Linked DNA regions of Homo sapiens: region 1 is linked to region 2. The links are contacts of gene promoters, found by promoter capture Hi-C in human tissues and cell types (Jung and others, 2019). All regions are on one chromosome and are shown on one strand. The core of a region is centred on a gene start or on the middle of the fragment in contact, and the rest is flanking DNA. Distances in the headings are between cores, read along the strand shown. Region 1 has its middle 4.4 kb from the start of TMEM216. Region 2 holds the start of MS4A10 (membrane spanning 4-domains A10).

What was found. Contacts are between HindIII fragments. The study calls those that stand out against the background at their distance.
Region 1: a fragment that was not itself captured here is called in contact with the fragment with the promoter of MS4A10 in region 2 in 1 of the 25 tissues and cell types used here (pancreas).

What each region holds. Positions count from the first base shown.
Region 1 is chr11:61,384,809-61,391,554 of GRCh38, forward strand. No RefSeq gene overlaps it. Among named protein-coding and RNA genes, the nearest start is that of TMEM216, 4.4 kb to the right of the region's middle. RefSeq lists a silencer at 856-1,015. The HindIII fragment of the contact is 9,589 bases long and covers 1-6,559 here.
Region 2 is chr11:60,783,706-60,790,349 of GRCh38, forward strand. It overlaps MS4A10 (membrane spanning 4-domains A10), which reads left to right and starts at 1,628. Exons shown (of 8, transcript NM_206893.4): 1 at 1,628-1,716; 2 at 6,609-6,644. The coding sequence starts at 6,631. The HindIII fragment of the contact is 17,691 bases long and covers 1-6,644 here.

The sequences.
Region 1 (6,746 bases), core at 515-3,014, 600 kb after region 2:
CATAGGTAAGCCAAGACTAGGGGGCAGGTGCACAGAGTTAGGGAGCTGCCCCAGGTGGAAGGCCTGGAGTAAGCGGCAACCATGACAAGGAGTCCACAGCAAGTTGGTCACGGGGCCTAGACCAGATCGGCAAAGTTGCCAAGGGAGTGCCGGCTTTGGGTGTGCAGCTGGAGTGGAACACCAGCAGATCTCCCAAGGCGTGCCCTGCTGATGGACGATGGAGCAAGGCCCCTAGCTGGAGTGCACTGGAACCAGAAGACAAGCCCTTTCCTTCCTGCAATGTCCTTCTAGCGTCCTCTGCTGACAAAGCCTAACATTGTACTCATTGTAGGGAGAAATGCTTCGAGTCTAGTTATCGCTTAACAGACACCGAAGGGTAGGTAAATAATGAAGCTGAGAGGCAAAAAATAGGTAACTGGCAGAAACCATTCTTCCAGCTACTCCACTACCATATGCACTCTTTACACAAATTTTGAACTCCCTTAGTAGCTACATTCCTACTAACAAGATATCTCCTCTCTAAAAGTGAAGTTCTCAGCCTTCCCCCAAATGATAAGACACACAGTCCAAACAGTCACTGTATCCATAGCTGGCTAGATTACTCCACAGATTTGTCGTGATCCCTATTACCTAAAAACTATTACCTAAAAACTATTACCTGTGTCTATTACCTAAAAACTAGATTGTAAAGTTGACCTCCAACAATTTGCACATAAAATAACAAAGGGAGGCAAAAGACATGGTCAGTACATACAAATAAACACATGCATGTAAGAAGCAAAGAAGAATATGCATCGCTGCTACAGTCCTCGTTTTTGTAACTGATCATTTTTGTAACTAATCACGGTCATAGTTGACATCCATGGTTTCCTTAGAAAAATCCGAAGGCTGCACACTGGAACCCGGGAGAGCCTCTTTGTTTCTGCAATAGCCCTCTAGTGCCCTCTGCTGACAAAGCTTAACACTGTACTCACTGTACGGGATAAATGCTTAGCGTCGATCCGGTTATCATGGAACAGAACAGGTACTGAGAGTGAATCTGGAGCTGAGGCAGTGTTGATAACTGCCATACTAGGAAACCACTAAATATTCAGAAATTAAATAAGGCTGGGCACGGTGGTTCACGCCTATACCATGTCACTCGAGCTCAGGAATTCCAGACCAGCTTGGGCAACATGGCAAAACCCCACCTCTACTAAAAATACAAAAATTAGCCAGGCGTGGTGGCACGCACCTGTAGCCCCAGTTACTCGGGAGGCTGATGCATGAGAATAGCTTGAGCCTGCAAGGCACAGGTGGCAGTGAGCTGAGATCGCACCATTGCACCGCAGCGTGGGCAACAGAGAGTCTGTCTTAAAATAAATAAAATAAAATAAAATAAAATAAAATAAAATAAAATAAAATAAAATAAAATAATAAATAAAATAAAATACACTTATAAATAGCCCATGGGTCAAAGAAGAAATCATAAGGGAAATTAGAAAACACTTTGAACCCAGCTGGGCGCAGTGGCTCATGCCTGTAGTCCCAGCACTTTGGGAGGCTGAGGCGGGTAGATCACTTGAGGTTAGGAGTTCAAGATCAGCCTGGGGGCAACATGGTGAAACCTCATCTCCACTAAAAATACAAAAATTATCTGGGTGTGGTGGCACACACCTGCAATCTCAGCTACTTGGGAGGCTAAGACAGGAGAATTCCTTTGAACCCAGGAGGTGGAGGCTGCAGTGAGCTGAGATCGCACCACTGCACTCCAGCCTGGGCAACAGAGTCAGACTCTGTCTCAAAAAACAAAAACAAAAACAAAACAAAACAAAACAAAAAACCTAAAGAAAGTAAGAAGAAGGAAATTATAAAGAGCAGAAATTTGTAAAATAGAAAACAAATTTTATACGATGAAGAAAAAGAAAGTCGAAAGCTGTTTTTAAAAAAATTAATAAGGCTGGGCACGGTGGCTCACACCTGCAATCCTAGCACTTTGGGAGGCCGAGGCGAGTGGATCATGAGGTCAGGAGTTCGAGACCAGCCTGGCCAACATGGTGAAACCCCATCTCTACTAAAAATACAAAAATTAGCCGGGCGCAGTGGTGGGCGCCTGTAATCCTAGCTACTCGGGAGGCTGAAGCAGGAGAACTGCTTGAACCCAGGAGGCGGAGGCTGCAGTGAGCCGAGATCACACCACTGCACTCTAGCCTGGGTGACAGAGCAAGACTCTGTCTCAAAAAAATAAAATAATAATAATAATAATAATAAGAAACCAGGCATGGTGGCTGATGCTTGTAATCCTAGCACTTTGGGAGGTCGAGGCAGGTGGACTGCCTGAGCTCACCAGTTCGAGACCAGCCTGGGCAACATGACAAAACCCTGTCTCTACTAAAAATACAAAAAAAAAAAGCCGGGAGCAGTGGCTCACACCTGTAATCCCAGCACTTTGGGAGGCTGAGGCGGGCAGATCATGAGGTCAGGAGATCGAGACCATCCTGGCTAACACGGTGAAACCCCGTCTCTACTAAAAATGCAAAAAAAATTAGCTGGGCATGGTGGCGGGTGCCTGTAGTCGGCTACTCGGGAGGCTGAGGCAGGAGAAGGGCGTGAACCTGGGAGGCGGAGCTTGCAGCCAGCCGAGATCGCACCACTTCACTCCAGCCTGGGCGACAGAGCAAGACTCCGTCTCAAAAAAAAAAAAAAAAAAATTAGCCAGGTGTGGTGGTGCATGCCTGTAGTCCCAGCTACTTAGGAGGCTGAGGCACGAGAATTGCTTGAGCCTGGGAGGCAGAGGTTGCAGTGAGCCAAGATCGTGCCACTGCACTGCAGCCTGGGCGATAGAGTGAGACCCTGTCTCATAAAAAAAAATAAAAAACAAAAATAAAACGTTAATAAAATTGATAAACACCTATCAAAACTATTGAAGAAAAAAATATGAAAGAAAAGGGACATCACTGCAGTTCTTACATCCATTAAGTAATATTTAAGGATTGCCTGGTGACTTTTTTAATTTTTAAAAATTAATTAGTTATTATTATTCTTTAGACAGAGTCTCGCTCTGTTGCCAGGCTGGAGTGCAGTGGCATGATCTTGGCTCACTGCAACCTCCACCTCCTGGGTTCTAGCGATTCTCCTGCCTCAGCCTCCCAAATAGCTGGGACTACAGGCATGCACCACCACACCTGGCTAATTTTTTTGTATTTTTAGCACAAATGGGGTTTCACCATGTTGGCCAAGCTGTCTTGAACTCCTGACCTCAAGTGATCCGCCTGCCTTGGCCTCCCAAAGTGCTGGGATTACAGGTATGAGCCACTGCGCCCAGCCTGACTACTGACTTATAATACAGAAAAAAAAAGAATTGAGGAATGTTATGAAAACCTTCACACCAATACATCTGGAAATGTATACAAAATGATTTACCCAAACCTTATTCAAGGTTTATGCAAACACAAATTCACCCAAACCTTACTCGAGAAGTAGAATATCTGAATGTTCTTATATATAGTACAGGGATTTCATTATTTTAAACTCCCCCCCACCAAAAAAAAAATTTAGGTTTAGATGGCTTCATCAGTGTATTCTTTCAAATACTTGAAGAAGAAATATTACCTAGCTTACACTATCTCTTCCGGAGAATAGAAAAAGAAGAAATACCTTTCGCTTTATTGGATGAAGCCACCTTAACCTTAATACCCACCCTTGACAAGGTCCTTGACAAAGTTAAATTACAGACCAATCTCTCTCATGATACATATGTAAAACCTGAACAAAATTAGCAAATGAAATCCAGTGACATATAAAAAGGATAACATATCTGTGTCAGGGGTCTCCAAGATCACACCCAGTTTGGATGATTTGCTATAAGGACTTATGGGACCCAGCATACAGGTGTATTCATGCCTCTGATCTATTACAGTGAAATACAAAGCAAGGTCAACAAAGGGAAAAGATACATGAGGCACAGTCAAGGAGAAACTAGCAGCATGCTTCCAAGAGGTCTATCTCAGGGGGAATCACACAAGACGTTCATCATTCCTCCAGCAACAAATTCTGATAACATATGTGCAATGTTGTCTACTAGGAAAGCTCACTTGAGACTCAGGGTCCAAGTTTTATTTTTTTTATTTTTATTTTTTTAAACAGTTATGGTTCACTGCAGCCTCTTCCCTCTACCTCTTGGGCTCAAGCAATCTTCCTGCCTCAGCCTCCGAAGTAACTGGGACTACAGGTGTGCACCACCATGCCTGGCTAAATTTTTTTGTTTGGGTAGAGACAGGGTCTCACTGTGTTGTCCAGGCTGGTCTTGAACTCCTGAGCTCTATTGATCCTCCTGCCTCAGCTTCCCAAAGTGCTGGGATTACAGGCATGAGCCACTGGACCCAGCCCCCAAGGTTTTTACTGGGAGCTGATCATGAAGGCACCCTCTGCCTAACATGTTTCAAAACTCCAGACTCTGAGAAGGAGAACAGGTATTTAGCATAAGCCACATTGTTTGTACAGTTTAGGCACTGTGAGCCACTTTAAACTGGTGGGAACACTACCAAAAGCCAAGTTCCCTTACGCCAGGCAAGGGTCAACCTTGCAGTTGGGCCTCTCCAAAGACAGCAGCCTCAGGTCTGCTATGTTAAGTTTTTTCTGTACAGTCTCATAAGCAAATGGGTTTTTTATTTTTTCCAGGAAGACATGGTTGGTCATACCTCTGAAAATCAATGTAATTCATATTAGCAGAATAAAGGAGAAAAATCATATAGTCCTCTCAACGGATTAAGAGAACACACTTAATAAAATATATCATAAGCCTTTTAGCAAACTAGGATAATAAGGGACTTTCTTAATCTGATAAAGAGTATCTACAAAAAAAATCTATAGCCACCATATTAATGGTGAGATATTGAACGCTTCCCCTGAGGTTAGGAACAAGACAAGACTATCCATCATCACCACTTATAGTCAACATTACACTGCCAGTCCTGGCCAGTGCAATAAGGCAAGAAAAAGAAATTGAAGGTATAGAGATTGAGAAGGAAGTAAAAATGTCTTTATTTACTGATGATGTGATCATGTACATAACAAGCCTCCTAGAAATAATCAATTTAGCAAGGGCACTGGCTGTTGGGACAGTCTTGCATGGGTCCTAAGCATCCCTGCATGTTCTTACTATGTCAAACCAGAAAGTCTGTCTCCTGATACTGAGCACAGAAGCAATTAAGTAGACCAAAGTGACTATAGTGTGATGATAGTATAATTTCTCCCTCCCCAGTGGAAAGGGCCTGGCTTTATTTGCTGCTTGCTAAAAAGGGTACTGAGCCTTTGGCTCTGGGCTCCACCAAGCTGTGGCATAACTCCTTGAGTGCAGCACCATCTGGGGTCATTGTGTCACTCATAGGACTTGGGAGCAGGGGGCCCCCAGGTTGCCATGCTGATGTTCCTGCTGTTTGCCATAAGTAATTTGGCCTCACTGTCAGCTTTTGGCATCTATGAAGTTGTGGCATACTCTGACATAGATTAGCCAACTTTTTCTTAAAGGGTCAGATGGTATTTAAGGCTGTGGGCCATGTGGTCTCTGTTGCAACTACTTAACATTGCCATAATAGCATGAAAGCTGCAATATATAATAACATGTAAGTAAGTGACCATGATGACGTTCTCCAAAGAACTTTTATTTACAAAAACAAGCAGCTGGCCCACTTTCTTTGTTTTTCTTTTGAGACATAGTTTCACTCTTGTTGCCCAGGCTGGAGTGCAATGGCTTGGTCTCAGCTCACTGCAACCTCCGCCTCCCAGGTTCAAGCGATTCTTATGCCTCAGCCCCCCAAGTAGCTGGGATTAGAGGCATGTGCCATCATGCCCGGCTAATTTTGTATTTTTAGTAGAGATGGGGTTTCACCATGTTGGTCAGGCTGGTCTTGAATTCCTGACCTCAAGTGATCCACCCGCCTCAGCCTCCCAAAGTGCTGGGATTACAGGTGTGAGCCACCGCGCCAGGTGCAGCTGGCCCACTTTCTTTCCATATCAGGCTCAGAGCAGGAACTTTTCTAATGTCTCTTGTCTTGCAGGCAGCGAAGATGGGGAAGCAGGATCTGGATTCCTTTCCACCTTAACCTCTGTGCTCTGCGCTTTCCTACTTACCCTAAAGGGCTTCCTTGCCCTCCAGCTTGCAGTTAAGTTGTGTCAGCGGGAGACATAAGCAGAGATCAGAGATGGGAGAAGGGAAATGGAGGTCCCTGCTATATTTATCCACTAGCCTCCTAGAGTGTGAGGGTTCCTAGTGGGAGGCCTTCTATGCACATATTACTCTCCAGCTTCAGGGAATTGTTTCAGGCCCTTCCCTTTTAAGCCTAGAAGTAACAATTACCGCCCCACCACATCCCAATTAGCCAGGGGTACAGCACTTTGCTTAAAGCTTAGTCACTCTTGGCCGGGGGCATTAATCACACCTGTAATCCCAGCACTTTGGGAGGCGGGGGGGGGGGGGGGGGGGGGGGGGGGGGGCGGGTCACCTGAGGTCAGGAGTTCCAGACCAGCCTGGCCAACATGGTGAAACCCCGTCTCTACTAAAAATGCAAAAATATTTAGCCGGGTGTGGTGGGGGGCACCTGTAATCCCCGCTACTTGGGAGGCTGAGACTGGAGAATCGCTTGAACCCAGGAGGCGGAGGTTGCAGTGACCAGAGATAGCGCCATTGCACTCCAGCCTGGGTTACAAGAGCAAAACTCCGTCTCAAAAATAAAATGAAATAAATAAAATAAAGCTTAGTCACCTTC
Region 2 (6,644 bases), core at 378-2,877:
TGGGGGTCATGGGATCTGGGGGTCACTGGAGCCCACTCCACACCTCCTCCACCAGAACAGCCTCACGGAAGACCTTCACACTTCCCAGAGCAGCACCGTGCTCATGGAAAGATCAGGGCACAAGATGTGGCAACTGATTCTGTCAGATGCAATTTGTGGGCCATGCCTGGATCCTGGATCCTGATTTGAACAAATCAAAAGTAACAAGACATTTGTGAGATAATCAGAAACTGAAGCTCCGACTAGTTATTTGATACCCGGTAAGTACCAAAAACTAGATAAGAACAGGTTTTTCTGACTCCTAGGGTTAAGCTTGTCCCCCACAACAGGGGTCCCCAACCCCCAGGCCATGGAGCTATACCAGTCTGTGGCCTGTTAGGAACCAGGCCTCACAGCAGAAGGTGAGGGGCAACAGGCAAGCATGACCTACCACCTGAGTGCCGCCTCCTGTCAGATCAGCCGCAGCAATAGATTCTCAAAGCAGAACGGGCCCTATTATGAATTGCACATGCAAGGGATCTAAGTGGTACCCTCATGAGAATCGAATGCCTGATGATCTGAGGTGGACTAATTTCATCCCAGAACCATCCCCCATCCCCACCCCGGCCCATGGAAAAATTGTCTTCCACGAAACTGGTCCCCAGTGCCAGAACGGTTGGGGACCACTGCTCTATGAAAGTAGTTTCTTTTTTCCTTTCCTCTTTTTTTTTTTTTTTTTTTTTTGAGACAGGGTCACACTGTGTTGCCCGGACTGAGGTGCAGTGGTGTGATCACAGCTCACTGGACTCAAGTGATGCTCCCACCTCAGCCTCTCGAGCAGCTGGAACCATAGACAGGGACCAAGACACCTGGCTCATTTTTGAATTTTTGAATTTTTGTAGAGATGAGGTCTCGCTATGTTGCCCAGGCTGGTCTCAAGCTCTTGGCTCAAGTGATCCTCCCACTTTGGTCTCCCAAAGAGCTGGGATTGCAGGCATGAGCCACCGCCCGGCCCTTTAAAAGACTAGTTTCCAAATGTTCAACAGAGCTCTGTGGGGCTGCAGGGTTAAACTCTGAGCGTAAATAGACCTCAGTGAGCACCAGGACTCGGTTTTAATTTTTTTGTTCTGATCATGTGGTCACACTTTTTTTTTAAAGAGTCCATATCTTTTAGAGATAAATACTAAAATGCTTACAAATAAAATGGGAAGATATCTGAGTTTTGCTTACTTCTGGGGGAGAATAAGATTGGCCAAGAGCTGCTGATGGTGGCTGTAGCTCGCGAATGGGCACAGGGGTGTCATGGAACCATTCTCTCTACTTTTGTGAGTGCTTGAAATTTTCCAGAATTAAAAGAACTCTTTCAAAAGGTTCAACTTCTTACTCCACTCCCAGGATCTAAGACGATTACAACCACTTTCACTCCATCAGTCATGCCCTGAAAACAGATTAAATTATCAACATTTCCCTTGCCAAAGGAAATTTACAACTGTCAAGGAGAGACATAAAGAAGGGCACTAAGATTTTCACCTGCCGGGGTTTGGCGGGAGGGGGAAGGACTTTGACAGCTTCCATGCAACCGGGGCATGAAGCAGGGCGTGGGTCCAGGAGGGAGAAGATCCAAAGTCGAATGTTGTAAAGATGTGCTGATTTCCCAGCGCTGTCTCTGGGGAGCTCCGGCAGCGCAAGAGGGCAAAGCACAGCTGGAAGCTCAGAGCTGCAGTCCCAGGTCCTGGGGTGAGTGGTCCCCCCATGGCAGGAACAGAGGGGAGTGATTTTGTGTTTCCATGTGGAGTTGGGGGGTTGCTCAGGTGTACAGACCTGGTCCCCCCTTGAAGCCAGGGGACCGGCCTCTTATACCCCTAGCCAATCAGTTGTTGGCTGTAGGGTTGGAGCGGTGTTACTTAAACTCCCAGAAGGGAGGAGATGTGAGCCTTTAGCAATGAACAATTATACCAGCTGGAGAATGGGTGGCCCACCCAGCAGAGGGGATCTGGGAAGTAGGGGGCACCGTCGGCCTCTCCCCTGCGGAGCCCCATCCTGCTGCCAGTTACTGACCCTTATTGCTGGAGGAGCCCCAGACACTTTTCTTGCAGTCTGGAAATGCATACACACAGAGAGACCAGTTCAAGAAAACAGAGCCCCAGGGAGGAGAAGGGACTTGTCGAGGGCCACGAGGGGGCAGGACTAGAATCCAGATTCTTGACTCCCTCCTTGGACGGAGGCCTCTGTTTCCTGCAGGCCTTCCAGCTGCTGGTGGGTGAGCTCTCTTTACACCAGGCACACTGTCTGGAAGCACCAGGAGGAGGCTGGTTCAGTACAGTCGTAGGTGGTTTTCTAACTGGCATTCACTGAAACGCTGATCCTCTAAGGCACCCCACCCCCAACACCAGCCTGCCTGTCACATGTTGTGACACTCTTGTCACTCAGCACCTCTCAATTCCTGCCTTTCTGTCCTTGACATGCATGCACATGCATGCACACACATGCACACACACACACACGCACACACACACACACACACACACCCTGAGAAGCTCTCTCTGTCCTCTAGGGCTCCACTGCACAGTCTGATGAGGGTCATATTATTCATGCCACGTTTCCTCTGCCTGCTCAGCCACAGACCTCCCATGGACACATCTTACTCACTCCTGCCTCGGTCCCTGCAGTGTCCAGTGCAGAAACTCCACAAACAAATCCACGAATGACAGTGTTGGATCTCAGATCACTAGCTCAATACACTCAGTGCCTTTCTTCCCTCACGACCCCCTACCCCCACCCCAGGGCCCCAGAGCTCTCACGGCCCTCTCCCCCTGTAAGCAGGATGGGGATGGAGGCAATAAACTCACCACTCCAGATGATAGGGACAGGGTGTATCATGTCTTAACCAAGAACCAGACGAGGACAAGGTGGAGCCTCGCTCTCACAGCCCTCTCCCCCTGTAAGCAGGATGCAGATGGAGGCAATAAACTCACCACTCCAGATGATAGGGATGGGGTGTACCATGTCTTAACCGAGAACCAGACGAGGACAAGGTGGAGCCTCACTGGTGGGATTCTAGACACGCAACAGGCCAGTGGCAACTGTGGCTGACATTTATTGCTATACGCCAGTCCCTGTCAGTTGCAGGCATTGTTTCAGCTACTCCTCACCACCTACCCCCTAGGGACAGGCAGTGGCACTCCCCATGAGAAGGTGAGGGGAGACTCAGATGCTGAGATGTAAAAAACCGGCCCAAGGTCAAAGCTCCGGGGAGCAGAGCCAGGACTTTGCACGGAGCACCCATTCTAGCTGACAACTTCCAGCGCTCAGGGCCGTGCCCACTCTGCTGCTTTGCTGGGGGGTTCTGGAGGGTCCTGCCCAGCTCTGTCCCTGTCCTCCCTCCACTCCCAGAACTGAAGGAACAACGAGAATATGTGTGGGACCCAGGCATCCCGTGGCCCTGTGCAGAGCGCTGAGGCCCTAGTGGCAGTGGGTTTCCCGTGGGATACCAAGCTGGCTGGGTCCGTGGTCCTGAGCTGGCTGAGGGGGCTGGGGTTGGGCGGGGAAAGGCTAAAAAAGTTCCTTTATGCACCAAACAGCCTGCTGCCTGCCCCCTCTCTGTCAGCACACTGTCACCTCCTAGCAGCCCTGCACAGGTCCTGGAAGTGGGCCAGGACAGCTGGGAATAAGTGTTCTAAGGAATCAGAGTTCATGCTCTTTGTCTTGGAAAGGCGTACGAGAGAGTCATAACAAACTTTTCCCCATGATGACTAAGGTCTGCCCTCTGCAACTCCTTCCTCTCCTGGTTGTATAAAATTCCTTGTAGCGGCTCTCTATCCCGTGAGAGAAGTATTATATTTAAAGTTGGAAGGGACCTTAGAGATCATCACTCAATTCCCATTCCCACTGTGATATGCACGTGAGCAAACCAAAAGCAGAGAAAAGGCCAAAAACCAGAGCCCAGGACCAGAAATTGAAACCTTCAAGGCCACTTTGCCCAAAAGCAGACCCCACAGAATACCAATTGCATAGAACCGTTAGACAATGAGAAAAAAAAGATCCTATGGCCAGCCGGGCGCAGTGGCTCACATCTGTAATCCTAGCACTTTCGGAGGCCAAGGTAGGCGGATCACCTGAGGTCGGGAGTTTGAGACCAGCCTGACCAACATGAAGAAACCCCATCTCTACTAAAAATACAAAATTAGCAGGGCGTGGTGGCAGGTGCCTGTAATCCCAGTTACTCAGGAGGCTGAGGCAGGAGAATCACTTGAACCCGGGAGGCGGAGGTTGCGGTGAGCCAAGATTACGCCACTACACTCCAGCCTGGGTGACAAGAGCGAAACTCCGTCTCAAAAATAGAAATAAATAAATAAATAAATAAATAAATAATAAAGATTATATGGCCAATTAAGTTTGGGAAATGCCCTTAATACTAAAACAGAGTGTGCCACTTGTAGAAAATCTCAGAGTCTTTAATATGAGAAAAAGGGAGAAGAGGCTAACCATGGTTTCTCAAACTTATTTGACCATGGAACCCTTTTACTGCAGATACATCAGGACCAATGTTCCATGGAACATACTTTGAGAAAGGTTATTCTGGATTCTTGAGTCCAACTCCCTGTTGGATATTTGAACCATTCCTACTGCCACAGCTCTCACAAGTGAATGTCTAGGTGGAGGTACAGCTCCAGTGCCCAGGCACTCACTATCTCCGTGGACAAGCAGTTCCATCCAAGGCAGCTCTACTAAGAAGTCCCTCTTCTTCTGTTCTTTGCAGTGGAGTCCAGGCCTGGGTCCAGGTATTGTCCTCCCAGGTGTGCAGAGTCTAGGTGAAGCCAGTGGCTAACCTGGTTCAGGCCTCTGCCACCGAATACATCCCTTAGTCCAGCTAGCTGTGTCAGACGGACTTCTGAAGGCTTGGGAACCTTCCCAAGGGACAGTTCCCAGAGGGACAGTTCCCATGCATAGCTGGGCAGAGTCACAAAAAGAATCATACAGCACTGTGTCTATGAGCTCAGCTTCTGAAGCCCAGGAAAGAGGGAGACCCTCTGCCCACTCACCCCACTAAATCAGCGGTCGTCACTGCAGGACCATGGAGATATCAATCAGGGGGTCCTACCCAGCAGCCCAGGCCCAGAGCACTGGCGATGGAGTAAGACCATGCGTGGTTCCAATTCCAGGCACTTCCTCACTGTGTGACCATGGCCAAGGCAGGCAACCTCTCTGAACCTTGGTTTCCTCTTCTATGCAATGGTGCTGACTTCCTGAGTATTAAGGGAGGTTGCCAGGCAAAACTGCCTCCTGGCACAGTGCCCGGCATACAGTGCTCACCCAACTGTGAGGCCCCATCTGGCTCTTTGGCTCTTGATAATGTCCCTTCCTTTCCCCTCTACCCAATCCAGGATATAGTCACCTGGGCTATTTGTCCCTCCAAACTTCCCAAAACTCTTTCCCTGCATCCCTGTGGAAAATGTGGATGCTCAATGGAACTTCCTGGATCCACAAGTCAGACTTAAAAGTGAGAGGAATGGCCCTCCCTTTTCATTCATCCAGGATACAGTCTGAGAGCAGCCTCTCTCTCTCAAGGATTTGCTCATTAGCCCCATCCCCATGGAGAAACCATCTCTGACCTCAATCCCTGCAAGCCAGCTCCCTTTCTTCCCCGCCCAGCTGTCCACTTCCTGGGACAGAAAGACTACGTTGGATTTTCTCACCAAGTCCCAGGCAGCCCCCAAGCCCTAGTGCATCCCACGGCGTCAGTATACACTATACCAGGCCCTGTCTGCAGGTCGTGTGTCCAGCCCCCTTCTAACTTTTTTCCCCAACTCCTTTTTGTGCCCATGAGAACATCCAGAACATTCATTTCCAATTGTTGAGCCAACAGTGCATGAAGGACTTAAGCCCCAGGCTCTGGAGCCAGCCTGCCATGCTTCAAGTCCAAGTCACTTACTGGTTGTGTGACCATGGGCAAGTGGCTTAACCTTTCTGAGCCTCATCTGCAAAATGAGAGTGAGGACGGTATTTACCTCATAGGGTTGGAATGAGGACAAAATCAGGTAATGCACGTAGAAGGTTTATCTCAGTGCCTGGAGCAGAGAAAGTATTTGTAAATGTTAGCATCGTTAAATATGGACTTCCTGACTCAGTGTTGGCTCATAAAAAGTCCTCGGTGGAAGATATTTTCTTCCCTTCTCTCCAGGAGGCATGGGCACCACCACAGGAGGTAGGACAATTATTTCCCACCTGCCTTCAGTCACTCTTCTTGGACCAGTGGATGGAGACTGTTTACAAAGCCCCTCCATTGACCTGCACCTCTCGCACCTCCCAACTCTTCCAAACTGCAGTCTGGCCACTTTGGGTGAGCTCTGTCTTCCACTGGTTGTGAAGTTTGCCTGGTCCTCATTTTTCTGCCCCAAAAGGAGCTGTGTCTTTGCAACCCCAGAAAGGCTGTGAGCAGCAATTACTCCCATCTCCAGGGGCCAGATTATTCCAGGTCAAATCAAGACCAAGACCAGGGGCTGCCAGACAGGGCAACCACAGTTCTGGAAAGATCTGGTCCCTTAAACAGAGGTGATTGGCAGAGGCTCACCCAGGCACAAGCCTCAGAAATGAGACGGGTTCTGACGGCCTTCCTCCCCGTCCTGCAGCCAGGGCCCCCATCCAGCATCAATGAAAGCAGAAGC